2 separate regions of the Homo sapiens genome follow, and region 1 is linked to region 2. The links are contacts of gene promoters, found by promoter capture Hi-C in blood cells and fetal thymus (Javierre and others, 2016). All regions are on one chromosome and are shown on one strand. Each heading gives the region's core, a stretch centred on a gene start or on the middle of the fragment in contact. The rest is flanking DNA. Distances are from core to core; before and after follow the strand shown. Region 1 holds the start of HEY2 (hes related family bHLH transcription factor with YRPW motif 2). Region 2 holds the start of STXBP5 (syntaxin binding protein 5).

Evidence for each region. Contacts are between HindIII fragments. The CHiCAGO score rates a contact against its expected background, and 5 or more counts as called.
Region 1: a contact is called between the fragment with the promoter of HEY2 here and the fragment with the promoter of STXBP5 in region 2, in 1 of 17 cell types (total B cells). The highest score is 6.4, in total B cells.

Annotation. Positions count from the first base shown.
Region 1 is chr6:125,745,149-125,751,620 of GRCh38, forward strand. HEY2 (hes related family bHLH transcription factor with YRPW motif 2) reads left to right here and starts at 4,484. Exons shown (of 5, transcript NM_012259.3): 1 at 4,484-4,711. The coding sequence starts at 4,629. It overlaps HEY2-AS1 (HEY2 antisense RNA 1), which reads right to left and starts at 4,277. Exons shown (of 5, transcript NR_183491.1): 1 at 3,811-4,277. RefSeq lists an enhancer at 201-868 and silencers at 2,639-2,818, 3,993-4,702. The HindIII fragment of the contact is 5,509 bases long and covers 442-5,950 here.
Region 2 is chr6:147,201,035-147,207,174 of GRCh38, forward strand. It overlaps STXBP5 (syntaxin binding protein 5), which reads left to right and starts at 3,383. Exons shown (of 28, transcript NM_001127715.4): 1 at 3,383-3,648; 2 at 4,937-5,034. The coding sequence starts at 3,499. It overlaps STXBP5-AS1 (STXBP5 antisense RNA 1), which reads right to left and starts at 3,580. Exons shown (of 11, transcript NR_034115.1): 1 at 3,379-3,580. LOC124901422 (a long non-coding RNA gene) reads right to left here and starts at 2,537. Exons shown (of 2, transcript XR_007059803.1): 1 at 1,782-2,537; 2 at 842-1,259. RefSeq lists silencers at 2,566-2,985, 3,016-3,065, 3,086-3,165, 3,336-3,525. The HindIII fragment of the contact is 4,433 bases long and covers 1-3,954 here.

The DNA of each region.
Region 1 (6,472 bases), core at 3,234-5,733, about 21 Mb before region 2:
TGCTGGGCATTTTTCTAGGGGATGGGAATGTAGTTTATTAAAAGAATATTTTCATAAGAGAAGTGAATATGTTTCATTGTATCCTTAAGAGAGGGGGGAAATCTGCCAATCAAACCAACTTCAAGAAAATGGAAATTTAAAAGAACTTCCTTAAAGGCAAAGCCTGCCAACATCAATTTAACTCCCACAAAAAGTTAAGCTAATACACTGAGTGTTCTCACTGTTGCTTACTGGCACACGGAAAACTGGTTACTTGCTATACACCCCTCTTCTCAAGGGTCCTGCAATAAAACTAGTCTTTATCCTGAGGCATGCTAAGCACTAACAACACCATAAAATAAAAGCTTTTAAATAAATTGCCCCTCAACAACAGTTTTAAAGATCAGTTTAAACATTCTAACTTTCGAGAGAGAGCTTTGGGTCATAGATTTCCTACCTTGAAGCTTCTGCTGTAACAAGTAAGTCGCAATTACTGGGGCAAGCCAAGAAATACAATGCATTTTGTGTGGCTGACTGGGCAAGAAAAATTAACTAGTAAAGCAGCTCCCTTTCAGGGATGACTTCAAGGTTGGTGGGCCTAAATTTGCACTTGCTTTCAGCTTTGTTTTGCTTTACTGGCTTGCAAATATGTGTCACACAGTGACCCTAGGTTGGCCTGCCTGCTGCCAGCCTGATGTTGGAAAAGGTATTGAAATGTACAAGGATCTTGCCCTTGGCCTCCACTCCTAGGGCGCAGCATTCTCACACATTTTAAGGCGTTACCAGCTCACAAAAGCCTTGTAGTCAGGGAAGGCAGCCCAACAAGGCTGCCCACAGATACACACGTGTTTGTCACCTGCCCCAGCAATTGCAAATAGAATAGCTCTTCTCAAGGCAACCTGTTTGTCCTCCCTTTGAAAGAGAAGGCTGTGTAAATAATTATATTTCAGATGTGGCAAAATATTGGAATTTTCAATTTGGACTATGCTCTTAGGCATCTCAGACTAACACAAAGTTTTCTAATTAACAGAGATGCCCTTATTTCACTGAGAAACCAAGCTAAAACTTTTAAATGGTGTCACATCTTGGTGACTTTCTAAGCCCATCAAATACCTGAGTGGCCAACGTTTTTTACGTAGCTGCGAGCAGCATCTCAAAGGATTTAGAGAAGCAACAAATAACAAAGTGTGACAGTCGATCTTGGAAAACCAGAGGGCTCTAATGAAGCAAAAAGTAGATGAAGAGGCATAAAAAAAATCCAGGTTCGTTCCAAAAAAGTTTTACAATTATAGCAAAGCAATCATTTCATCGGTTTGTGCAACAAAATTCAAAATCTGCGGGGCGAGATAATACTTGGCCAACATCGCCAAATTTATCAATACGGGTGTAAAAACTGTAACTTTTTATTAAATGGGTGTGAAAAGAGTCGGGGAGGAGGAACAGGACCACTAAATCTGGTATTTCCAGATCTCTGCATTCAACATCTCACTCCCACGCCATTAAGTTAAATAACATTTAGCACAAAACACAGGCTAGACCACCAATTTCGGGAGGGCGTCTGAGTCTTCCCTTCTCCATTCCCTTTAGATCGGCCGTCCTGGCCTTTCTTTCCTAACGGCATCTCCTTTCTAATAAAGTCCCTCGTATCTTTTGGTGTAATTAACTCATGGTACAAATCCTTCAAAAAGAAAGGAAAGAACTGCGGTTTGCTCTACGCGCGGACATCTTTTCTTCCTAAGCCTTCCCTTTCGCTGAAAAGGTTGTCGCAGAAGGGCGGGGAGGCTTGAAATCCCGCCGTTCCCTCATTCTTTCTCTTTTCTTTCTCTCCACATAACGCCTCCCCTACACCTCCCCACCTCCAATCCACTACCGTATTTAAGTCGGCGGGGGCGCTTTAAAGGGTTTCCTGTGTCTGTTTCTGTCTCTCTGACCCGAAACGCACTTTCGGTTATAGACAGACAAGGCGCTCAACCAAGGGACAGGCAAATGGAATAAACAGCTGAGGAGAATAAACGACCTAATGGGGAAATCTCGTGCTGCCTAATTGCTATTGTGTTTTGCAGATAAATAAGCATATTATTTTGATAGCGTTCAAAACCCTGAGCTCTCTTGCCCTATGCATTCTTAACAGACTTCTATGGCGCTTACTATATACCAGGCGCTGTTTTAAATGCTTTTAAAATACCACCTTCTTTGCTTAAAAAATATTTTTAACAGATTTAAAATTCCGTGTGTGCTTTCGAACTTCCCTGCTATACTCTTCTTTATACATAGTACAGCAGTTGTCTTCAAAGACAAATTGAAAAAAAACTTTAACCAGTTGCTACTTAATTGCCAGCAAATCGTTTCCCTCTGCAATTTTTCGCAATCATAATTAAATACACTAGTATAGTGGCAAAGAACTGTTAGATTTTTTTTTTTCAGTGATGATCTCAGGTTTTGCCTCAGGCGTTTGGACGCGCCCGCTAATTGCCCGTGTGGCAAACATGAGTTGCACCTGCAGGCATTTGAATTCAGAAAAACGTGCAGCCCTCACGGAAAGTTGTGACGGTCGAGCTTGAGCCTGGCGGGCCGCGGAGCGTTCACCTGCGGCCGGGAGGTACTGGCCCAGGGCGCTCGGGGCGGGAGGTGGCAGGCGACCGGCGCGCGTCAGGCTCGTCACCCGCTGGATTGCGGGGCCGGAGCGGGGACGGGGTCTGGGTCCTGGCCCGCCCTCGTGCAGCCGATCGGAGGCCCCGAACCCCGCGCCGACCCAGCCATCCGCCCTGAGGCCGACAGGGGAGCTGGGGTTCACCGACCCCCGCGGCCCCGCCGTCGGGCGCGGACCCCATCCAGCCCCACCTGGCCCCGCCGAGTGTGTGCTTTGCCTGGGGTTAAGTTTCAGAAGCCAAGATGGAACGATTCGGGTTTCTATTCACAAGGTTATTGAAGGCATGGCGGTGGGGACCGCGCAAAAGAGATGAGAGTGTGGGGGGAAAGGGGTTTCTGTTCTAATAAGGGCTTAGCACGCTGGCCGCAGGTCCTCCGCGCCGACCGGGCTCCTTCCCGCTCTCCCCCGGGCCAAACCCCGCCAGGGTCCCGTCTTTCCCAGTCGCGTCCTTTCCTCTTCTCCCCGCCCCGCGCCGGGCTTGTGTGGACAGAGAACGGAGTGTCAAAGGGACGCCCTGGGCCGATCCCCAGGAAGCTATGAATCCCTCCGTGACGGAGGGGTCTGGGGATCGATAGACGGCCCTTTCTCAGAGGCTCTCTCCACTACTGACCAAGCGGCCCTGCCAACGTGTGGTTTCCGGCTGGACCCCAACCCAGCCGCCGCCAGTCTCCCGGCGCCCCTGGCTGGGTCTCGCTCAGTCCCTGCCCTCGCAGACGCACAGCGGGGTGGCCAGTTCAAAAGTCCTACATAACTTGGAGAGAACCAGCAGCTAGAAAACCTGTTTTAAACACACAGCTTGAGTTTTATACAACCCACGTTGTCCAAGGCACGAACTGTTGGACACGAATTCATACTTTAGAAACCAAATCTAATTTCCAAGCGCCAATCTTCACCTCCCGGACTCTAACTCTGCGGCTGCGAGTGCATACACCAGGGGGACTGGAGGAGACTGGAGGCAATTATCTGGATAATCCAAGCCCGAAAAACTCGAACTTGAAAATATACGATTATGTCCTGAAATGCCCGCGTCATTGATCTAGTCTTTCCTACCATCAGAGCTGACACAGCTCCAGTCCACGGGCTTCTCCGCGGGGTCTAGGATCCACAGTCCCTGGGGGCTGAAGACCCAATGGAAGTAACTGATGGATCGCAAATTGGAAATCGTAACGTGGCCGACAGACCTGATCAGGAAAACTCGCGTCCTTATATGAAACAGCCCCGAGGCCGCGAAAGTAGCCTCAGGAGTTGTCAGATTCAAAAGCAATTTTGATTTAAGGTTTTCAAAAGCCCCAGAGGGCAAATGTGACCACTCGGGTCAGCCAGTCAGCAGTTTGGATCCAGACAGGGGACCACCGAGTGGGGCGGCCGAGGAGCCGCGGCGCCTCCCGACGTCACACGCGCCTGCTCGCACTTAGCCACGCGCTTGGGGTTATTCTTTACACTCAGGACTGAAACTTCGCCCGCGAGACCGCGGGGCGCGGAGGAGGGCCGAAACCCAAGGTCCAGGTCCAGGGCCCGCCCCCGCGCGCCCGCGTTGGCGCCCGCGCGCTCCCTCCGCAGGGGTTAGCAAGATTGCGCTCATTCTCGCCCCGGCTGCTCCCCACCCGCTCGCTGCTCTGGGGTACCAGGTCCGCGGCCGCGTTCCCACGCCTCGGCTGGAGCCTTGCGGCGGGCATTGGCGAGCGCGGCCCCGCCCCCTGGCCCAGCCAATCGCGAGCCACGCCGACCAGCGAGGGGGAGGTGCCGGGCGGAAGGCCTGGGCCGGTGCGCGGGGGCGGGTGAGGTGGCCCCACCCGCTCGAGGGGGGGGCGTGGCCGGCGCCGGCTCTTGCGGCCGAGCAGAGTTGCGGCGTGGGAAAGAGCCGCTAGGAGCAGACCGCGCCGCCGCCGGAGCCGCGCCTGCCCAGGCCCGGGGAGGGAGGAGGCGGGCGTCAGGGTGCTGCGCCCCGCTCGGCGTCCGAGCTTCCGGCCGGGCTGTGCCCCGCGCGGTCTTCGCCGGGATGAAGCGCCCCTGCGAGGAGACGACCTCCGAGAGCGACATGGACGAGACCATCGACGTGGGGAGCGAGAACAATTACTCGGGGTGAGCGCGGGCTCCGCGGGAGCGGCCCGCAGCTCGGGAGCTTGGGGTAGCTTTGTGAATGCGTGGCTCCCTGGAAATCCCGAGGCTGGTCTCCGCAGCATCTAGGTAGAGAGGGAAAGTTTGGCCTGAGAAAGTTTGAGTGGTGGGCGCTCGCAGAGCGTGAGTTGGGATGGGGCAAGGGATGTGGATTTTCACCGTAGGGGTGGAGTAGCCAGGATGGGAGACGCCACTGAAAGGCAGAGCGCAGGAGTTGGCGAGGGAGGGTCCTGGCTGTCACAGTTGGACGCGCGAACGGCAGCGTCTGGGCGACAGGCGATGTCCCAGCCACTGAAACCGTATTTGGGGGCACTTTCAAAATAGATCAGGAGAAAATAAAAACAATTTGATTTTTGATTTTTAGAGATACCAAAATCACAACTTGATTTTTGGAGGAATTAAAGCAACCTGCGATGTCAAGGCTACGTAGGTTGAACTTTGCAGGTTGACCGTGTGTGACTTGGCTAACGCAAGAGTGAGTGACAGATGTAAGCATCGGAAAGGGCATCATTTCTTTGACTGCTTGTTCTCAAGTCTGGAAGAGATCGGCGTCGTAATCACAGAAGCCAGACCTCCACTTTCCTGTGACAGAGGGAGATTACCGAGGCATTTTAGAGCCAAGGCGGGTCAAATGATAATTGCTTCTAATTGGCATCCCCAGAAGCACCTTAATTATTTATCTGCAGCTGTCACTCAAAGAGGGAAATTCTTCCTACCTTTGGAAAACTGGTTTTCTTTCATATTGTTATTCTAATACATACAAAGCAAAGCACAAAATCTGCAAGAGCAAAGATATTTACACGAAAGCAAAGGTTTAAGTATCTGATCATTAAAGTGTTGTTGTGCCGTCTTTAAAAATGAGGTCTGAAAAACAGAAGCTATCACGTGAAAGGTGAAACCCGTAAAGAAGGGGTGAAAATGAGGGGGACAGGTAATTCAGAAATAAGATCCAGAAGTGAGAAGGTGAGGTAATAGCAACCTGGTGTGTGCAGCATTTCTAAAATGAAAGAGAACAAATAACAGGAACCTGGGGAATTTGAGAACACAAAGAAGCATAGTATCCATGAATTATGAAGAGAAACAGATACAAACTAGAAAGGATTGTAAAAATTATGTGACCAAATAATACTTTGATTGAACCTTCAATATAAAAATATATTTTCATTAGTAAATCCAAGGTGCATTGCAGCTTCTGGAGATTTAAGCTTAGCCTAAAGTCTGAGACACACCTACAGTTTCATTTTCAAAGTAAAACATTCACCTAGTAATAAAATGAGTTTTAATTTTCCTATCAGTGGCATATTTAGGGCATATTTTTGGAAGATTAGTATGCAAAACATCAAGTTTGTCAATTTTTTCCTGTTGCAATATATGACTAACTGAAGTTTTGAAACAGTAAGATAACTTCTATTTATTTTAAAGTTTGCACCTAGAGACAAGAGTTTGACGTATGACGACTGCACATCTGTTTGATAGTGGTGCTTAACATAACCCTGATTTGAAAAAGTGGCATTATTTTGTTCAGTGTGCCTGACAGGAGGGAGAAGGAAAGCTATTTGAGATTAGTTGACTTTAAAATATATGAGTGGAACTAGGAAATGCTAATATCTAACTTCTCAGCCCAACTGCCGGTAATTATTTCACTGGGAGACTTTCAAGTAAAAATTGTGGGACATTTTGGCCAATGGGTTAGCATCTGGATTACAAATTAAGGCGTAATTTTTA
Region 2 (6,140 bases), core at 2,133-4,632:
ACAAATAAACACAACTTTTCTGAGAAATTATGATGGGTAAAATTCTCTGTTTTGTGCTCAATTTAAAAATGAATAATATAGATTATTTAGTTTAATGTATTTAATTCTAAACTTAAAATGTTTAATTCCAAATAAAATTCTCAAAATTTCAGTTCTAATTTGAAAAAACAAATTGATTAATTCTAACTGACTTATAAGAATTACTGTGAGTTTGAGGATCGATTATTTTACCTTTGCTATAATAAAGGTCGTTATTTTGGGCCATTGTTGGTTTTGGCCATTTGGATTTTCGGATAAGTCCCCGTGTCTCTGAGCACAGAGGATGGACTGCAAGTTCACAAAGGTAGGCTATATCCATCTTAAATTCCAGGTATTCACTAAGAACTGAAATTTTGAGAATGTCAGAATGAGTTCATAACCTGATGGAAAAGATAGAGTATAGAAATAAAAACAAACATTCTAGAGTCAGAAGTAGGAAACTGGCTTAAATTGGTGACTCTTTGAAGTCCCCTTTACCTCAAGGACCCTGATAGAATAGGAAACTGACATTTTTGAGTGTCTACAGAGTACTAAGCAATGCAGTACAAACTTTTCATATTCTTTCTTTTCCCCCTCCAGTTCATGCTCATAAATTTCTAAGAAGGTGGTATTAATCTCATTTTAAACCTGAGGAATCTGATCCCTAGAAAAATTTAAAATTTGCCCAAGATTACACATATTACCATGGCCTGGACTGAAGTTCATGGCTGGCTGACAACAAAGCCTATATTTTCCCACTACACCACAAAGCCTCTCAACAAGAAGTTGTCTTTTTTTTCTAGAAAGTTTTATAATCCAATGATGAAAAATTATCCAATAGATTTATTTTAGACCTAGGTAAGTAAAAAGGCAGATCATACAATTCTATGGGGTTGTGATCTGTCTGTTTTGCAATTTCCCCCTGTGGAATCACATGTACTTTTAAAAAGCTCTCAAGGTAATTCTGAGGCTCTCTTCCCCATTGTCTTCCAATGGTCTTTGCCTCCTGTTCGCTAGGTCTGCTCCTCCTTATCCGGCATGATCTATGGTGGGCGTCACCATGTCCAAGCCTTCCTGGCCAGTTAAGTGGCCCTCTGCCGTCCTCCTTCATTATTCCATCATTGGACTCATCACATCGTTTTACAATTACTATTTATGTTAAAAGTCGTCTCCGTTAGACCGTAGTGAGCTTGCTGAAAGCAAGGATTGCATTTTCGTGTCTTTAGTACCTAGCACACCGCCTGACAACAAAATGTTAGAGAACTAAATTAATAAAAAATTCAGAGCCACTTGGAAATAGTTTAGGAATGTCCTCACATTTGTTTTCTTGGTCGTTGCACCCAGCGAATCAACTAATTCAATAAATATTAAACGACAAATCAAAATTTTGTAGGTTCCAAATGCAAGACATCGTCCTGGGATGCGGAAGCTGCAGAGTGGACTACATTTCCCGAAATCCCTGGGCCCAGTCGTAGTTGGTTCGCTGACTGCTTTTGAATGCTGGTTAACTCAACCAATAGGGTGACGAGAATTTCCCTAAAGGAGAGGGAGCCGACCTCACAAAGAAGAGGGCGGGTGCTTCTGACAGGTTTGGAACTTAAAAAAACCCTTTGTGGCGGTTCCGTGGCTTTTCCGCAGACCAGAGCGCGCGAGGAGTCATTCGCTAGGAACCTGTCCCCCTCTCCCCGAATTAGGATTAGTCTTCCTGCACTTCCTTCCTTCCTTACGTCTTTCCTATTTCCACATCCTTCCTAATCAAGTACCTGTGCTTCCGTCCACCTGTCCTGTTGAACGCACTCTCCGGGGGGTTTCCCCGGCACAATCTCTTGTCTGTCTTTTCCAACTTGAGCCAGGCATTTGTCTCCAAGCATTCACGCGAGATGGGCAGTGCGGCCTCGGAAAGATCTGAGCAAAAACTTCATCCTATCCCCCTTTCCCCGTTCTAGAGTGAAGCTCCCAGGGCATTACTGAGTGGCTCATCAGCGTCAGGGCAGATTGAAGGTTCTGAAAAATAGTGGCAGCGCGGCGTTTCCTGCCACCCGCGCTCCTCCCCGGCGAGGGGCTGGGTGCGGGGTAGTGTCATCGGCCCGGGCTGACACCGGCCCTGGAACCGTTCCCCGCTGGCAGCCTCTTCCATCCCAGCAGCTAACTGCTAAGACCAGACACGTTCCACCAACAGTAACAGCTGTAGGAAAGAACCCGTTTTTTCCCGTCTAGGTTTCTCTCCTTTTCCTAGTACCTAAGTCCATCATCCTCCTGCCACTGACATATCGTTGTCTAGACGCTCTTTTTCAAAACTCAAATCCAATCAAACAAAAACAACGCCCGTCAATAAAGCAAGAAAAATAATACTGCAGCCAGCGGCCAGGAGCGTGCACCCCATTAACGGCGAGAAAGCATCAACCCCTGCTGTAATGACTGAATTGGAAAGAAAGGTTTCCTGCTGCTTGTTAGTCGTCAACATTTTTACTATGCCAGCTGCAAGAGAAGCAGCTGCATACTCTGGCAACTCGACTGGGGTGGGAGAAATTTAGCCAGCGTCTGGGATTTTCGCAGAAGATAATTTAAGCCCCAGCTTCGCTCGGGCTGGGGGGCTGGGGGCCTGCTGGGCCAGGGTGGGGGAACCGGGCTGCGGCGCGCATGCGCAGGTACCGCAGCCCGGCTCCTGGGAGGCCCTGCTGCCGCCACCGCCGCGGCCCGCGCTGTAACCGCGGCTGCCGCTGCTGCTCCGGGCGGGCGTTGGTGCCGTGTGCCGAGGCGCCCTGTCAGGCGATGGGGAGCGGCTGGGCGGGGAGAGCCGACGGCCGCGGCGGCGCCTGAGGAACGCAGCCGGGCTCGGGAGCGGCGAGGGCGGGCCGGTCCAGCGGCGGAGGAGCGAGGCGGGGCGAGGCAGGCGGCGCGGGGACCCACACCAGGCGCCTTGTGTGCGAGGCCGAGCGGCGGCCGCGGACAGAGAGCCGGCGACCCCCGGCAGGAGGAGAAGGAGCCGGAGGACGCGCCGAGGGACTGCGGGGCCGGGGCGGGCGAGCAGCGGCGCGGCCGCGGGCCATGGACGCAGCGGCGACGGTGGCGGCGCCGGGGGCGAGCCGGGGCGGCGGCGCGGCGCAGAGTCCGCCCGCGGCCAGGTGAGGCTGGGCTGAGCGGGCTCGGGCGCCGCCGCCACTGCTGCTGCTGCTGCTGCCGGGCCGCGGAGCGAGGCGGCGGCGGCGGCGGCTGAATCGGCACCACAGCAGCCGCGCCAAGCAGCGGCGGCCTCGGAGGAAGAGGGGTCGCCGCCCAGGTTTCTTGCGGCCGCCGCTCTTGTCGTCGCAGTATTTCCTGTTCGGATTATCTTTTGCTTCCCCCCAGCTGCCTCCTTACCCTCACACTCCCACTCCTCCGTTTCCGCGGTCGAAGCTGCCTTCGGCCCCGGGTGGTCTCCCCCGCCCGGGGACCCCCTGTGCCTCCCCTCCCGGGCTGCGGGGGAGCCCCTCCGAGACCATGAGGAAATTCAACATCAGGAAGGTGCTGGACGGCCTGACCGCCGGCTCGTCCTCGGCGTCGCAGCAGCAACAGCAGCAGCATCCGCCTGGGAACCGGGAGCCGGAGATCCAGGAAACGCTCCAGTCCGAGCACTTTCAGCTCTGCAAGGTGAACGGAGCGCGCAGCCCCGCGACACCGTCATTGAAAAATTGGGGTTGTTTTAAGGGGGCTACTCGGGCTTTACATGGGAATGCAAGGGAAGAGAACGCCAATAATAATAATAATAACTCTAATAAAAGGCTCGCTCCTCCCTTGGCAAACGTTTCTTCGGTGGGTTGTTTTGGAGATTGATACCTTACTCCTTTTCATTGATTTTTCTCTCTCCCCTTTGCACATGCAGCAATCAGTTCAAGGTTGCTTCAAACTATTATCCGACCTTTAATCGTATTCTGACACTGCCAGTAATAACCTGGAAGCTTTTATATTCAAGCGTTTTAATATGATTCACCAACTTCGAAGTTTCCTTTGGAAACGGTGTCTAATGAATGTTGTTTATCAAAAAGCCAAACCTGTTCTACCACACCTTTGCTCATCACTTTTCCCTTAAAATGTGGTGTAAGTGGCTTACGATATGAAATCACAGGGTTCTTTTTATCATTATGTTTGTTAAAAAGTACTGAGATTTTTGCCTGTTAATGGCACGATAATTGCCATAGCGTTCTGTAATTCAGAAAGAATGATGCAGCGAATTAAGTCACCAGCTGCTTAATGAGAAACACAAACTTGCCTCGGTTTTAATACCTGCCTTTCTCATAAATAGCCATGTATTTGTATGTCAGAGTTAATTAAAAGTGTGCATATATATATATATATATATATATATAGGTCTAATGCCCTAAAATGATTATGGCCTTAATAGTAAATTGCAAAAATGTATGTTGTACTCATCTTCATTCTGTTACAAGTGTAAAATGTTGGGATAGAGGTTTGATTATTGCTCTACTGAATGCTTGACTAAAGTAATTATATGACAGCTTTTCCTTAGAAGTACTTGCGTTAGCATCCAAATAAAGTAATGATGAAATGAATACTGCCAAAATAAAGTATGAATTGCATTTAATGGGTTTACAGAATTTTGGACCATTGCAAACTTTAGTCATCTGGTGTCGGATGTAGTAGTATAGAATATTAATAAAAGATTTTCTTCTATGGAATACCAGTATTATGGAAAAGCGAAATTAAAGTATATCACTGGACTAGATTTTTGTTTGTTTCAGGTTCTATGTGAATAACTTTGTTAATGTAGGTTTCACTTATTTTTTCAAAAGCAGTAAGTGCATGTGTATGTGTTTTGCATCAGTGGTAGTGGTTCTAAATTCTAACGCCTCTATTGACTTTCTATTTTAAAATTTCGCTTGCTGCCTTGGTTGCTGTGATGTCACTTGCCCATCCCTAGACTGTTCGCCATGGATTTCCCTATCAACCCTCAGCCCTGGCCTTTGATCCTGTACAGAAGATCCTGGCAGTGGGAACTCAGACTGGTGCTTTAAGGCTGTATCCTTTCTTTAATTTTATTTTTTAACTTCTACTTTGTTCTCCCCAGTCCTTCTGTGTTGCTGATTAGTTCCAAAGAAAGTTTTTATTTTCCTGTTGGTGTGATTAGATATATACTATGAGAAATCATGTGTTGGCTTTTCCCTTGATTATAATTCAGCTTATATACTGCTGTGATGTTTCTCAGCTCCTAGTTTATAGTAGCTAAACATATATCCAAATAGAGGTCTAAAGTTTTTTTATGATAACTATTTTATTTGTAAGGAGATAGAAGTTTCTAAGGAAAAATATATCTGCTTCTATACTATTGGTGTGATGAATGAGGTATGTTAAGGATGAGGTTTAAAGACAATTACTTTTAAAAATATTATGCATGGTAGATATTGAACTTATGACCTATTCTAATAAATTAGAGATTGGATTTCAATCTGAATTTGGTTGTTTTTGGCATGTCCGTGTAGAAAAACAATTAGCAGAAGTGTAGCAAATTAATTTTCTATGAATAGTTATAAATGGTTAATATTTCTACCAGTTTTTAGAGCGTTTTCTTGAAAAATGCATGGGGATAAATTTTTTCTCTTGATATACTTTTTCTCTCATAGTCTACATTTGTTATGTATTTGTAAAAACTGTTAGGTTACTATACATTAAACTAGTAGTATAGAATTACTTTTCCTGGTTGTGTATGAACTATATTAGTTTTATCAAGCATTTTTTTAAATACTTCAAAAGATTTTTTTCAAGATAATTTTTTAGTGAGAACAGTACAGACGACTCACTTTCTATTTTTATGTTGAAATGTGTTTTCTTTTACTGTGACTTTGAAACATACTTAACCTAAATATATTCTTAAACTTAAGATTTGGATTCATCTATCTGTGGGATATCTACCTCCTGCATATTAATGAGTAATGTGTTGGTGATAAATAGAAAAAAAAAATCACTAGATGATTTCAGTAGACATTACTATTGTCAAAAAAAAGAAAAGAAATATACGATAGGGGAGGAGCTTTACCCCTTTATATTTTAGATTTTTCTGGTTCCTGAGAAGGAGTGAGGGAACCTGCATTTGAGTTAAACATGTGCCAGGCATTTTACTTACATTT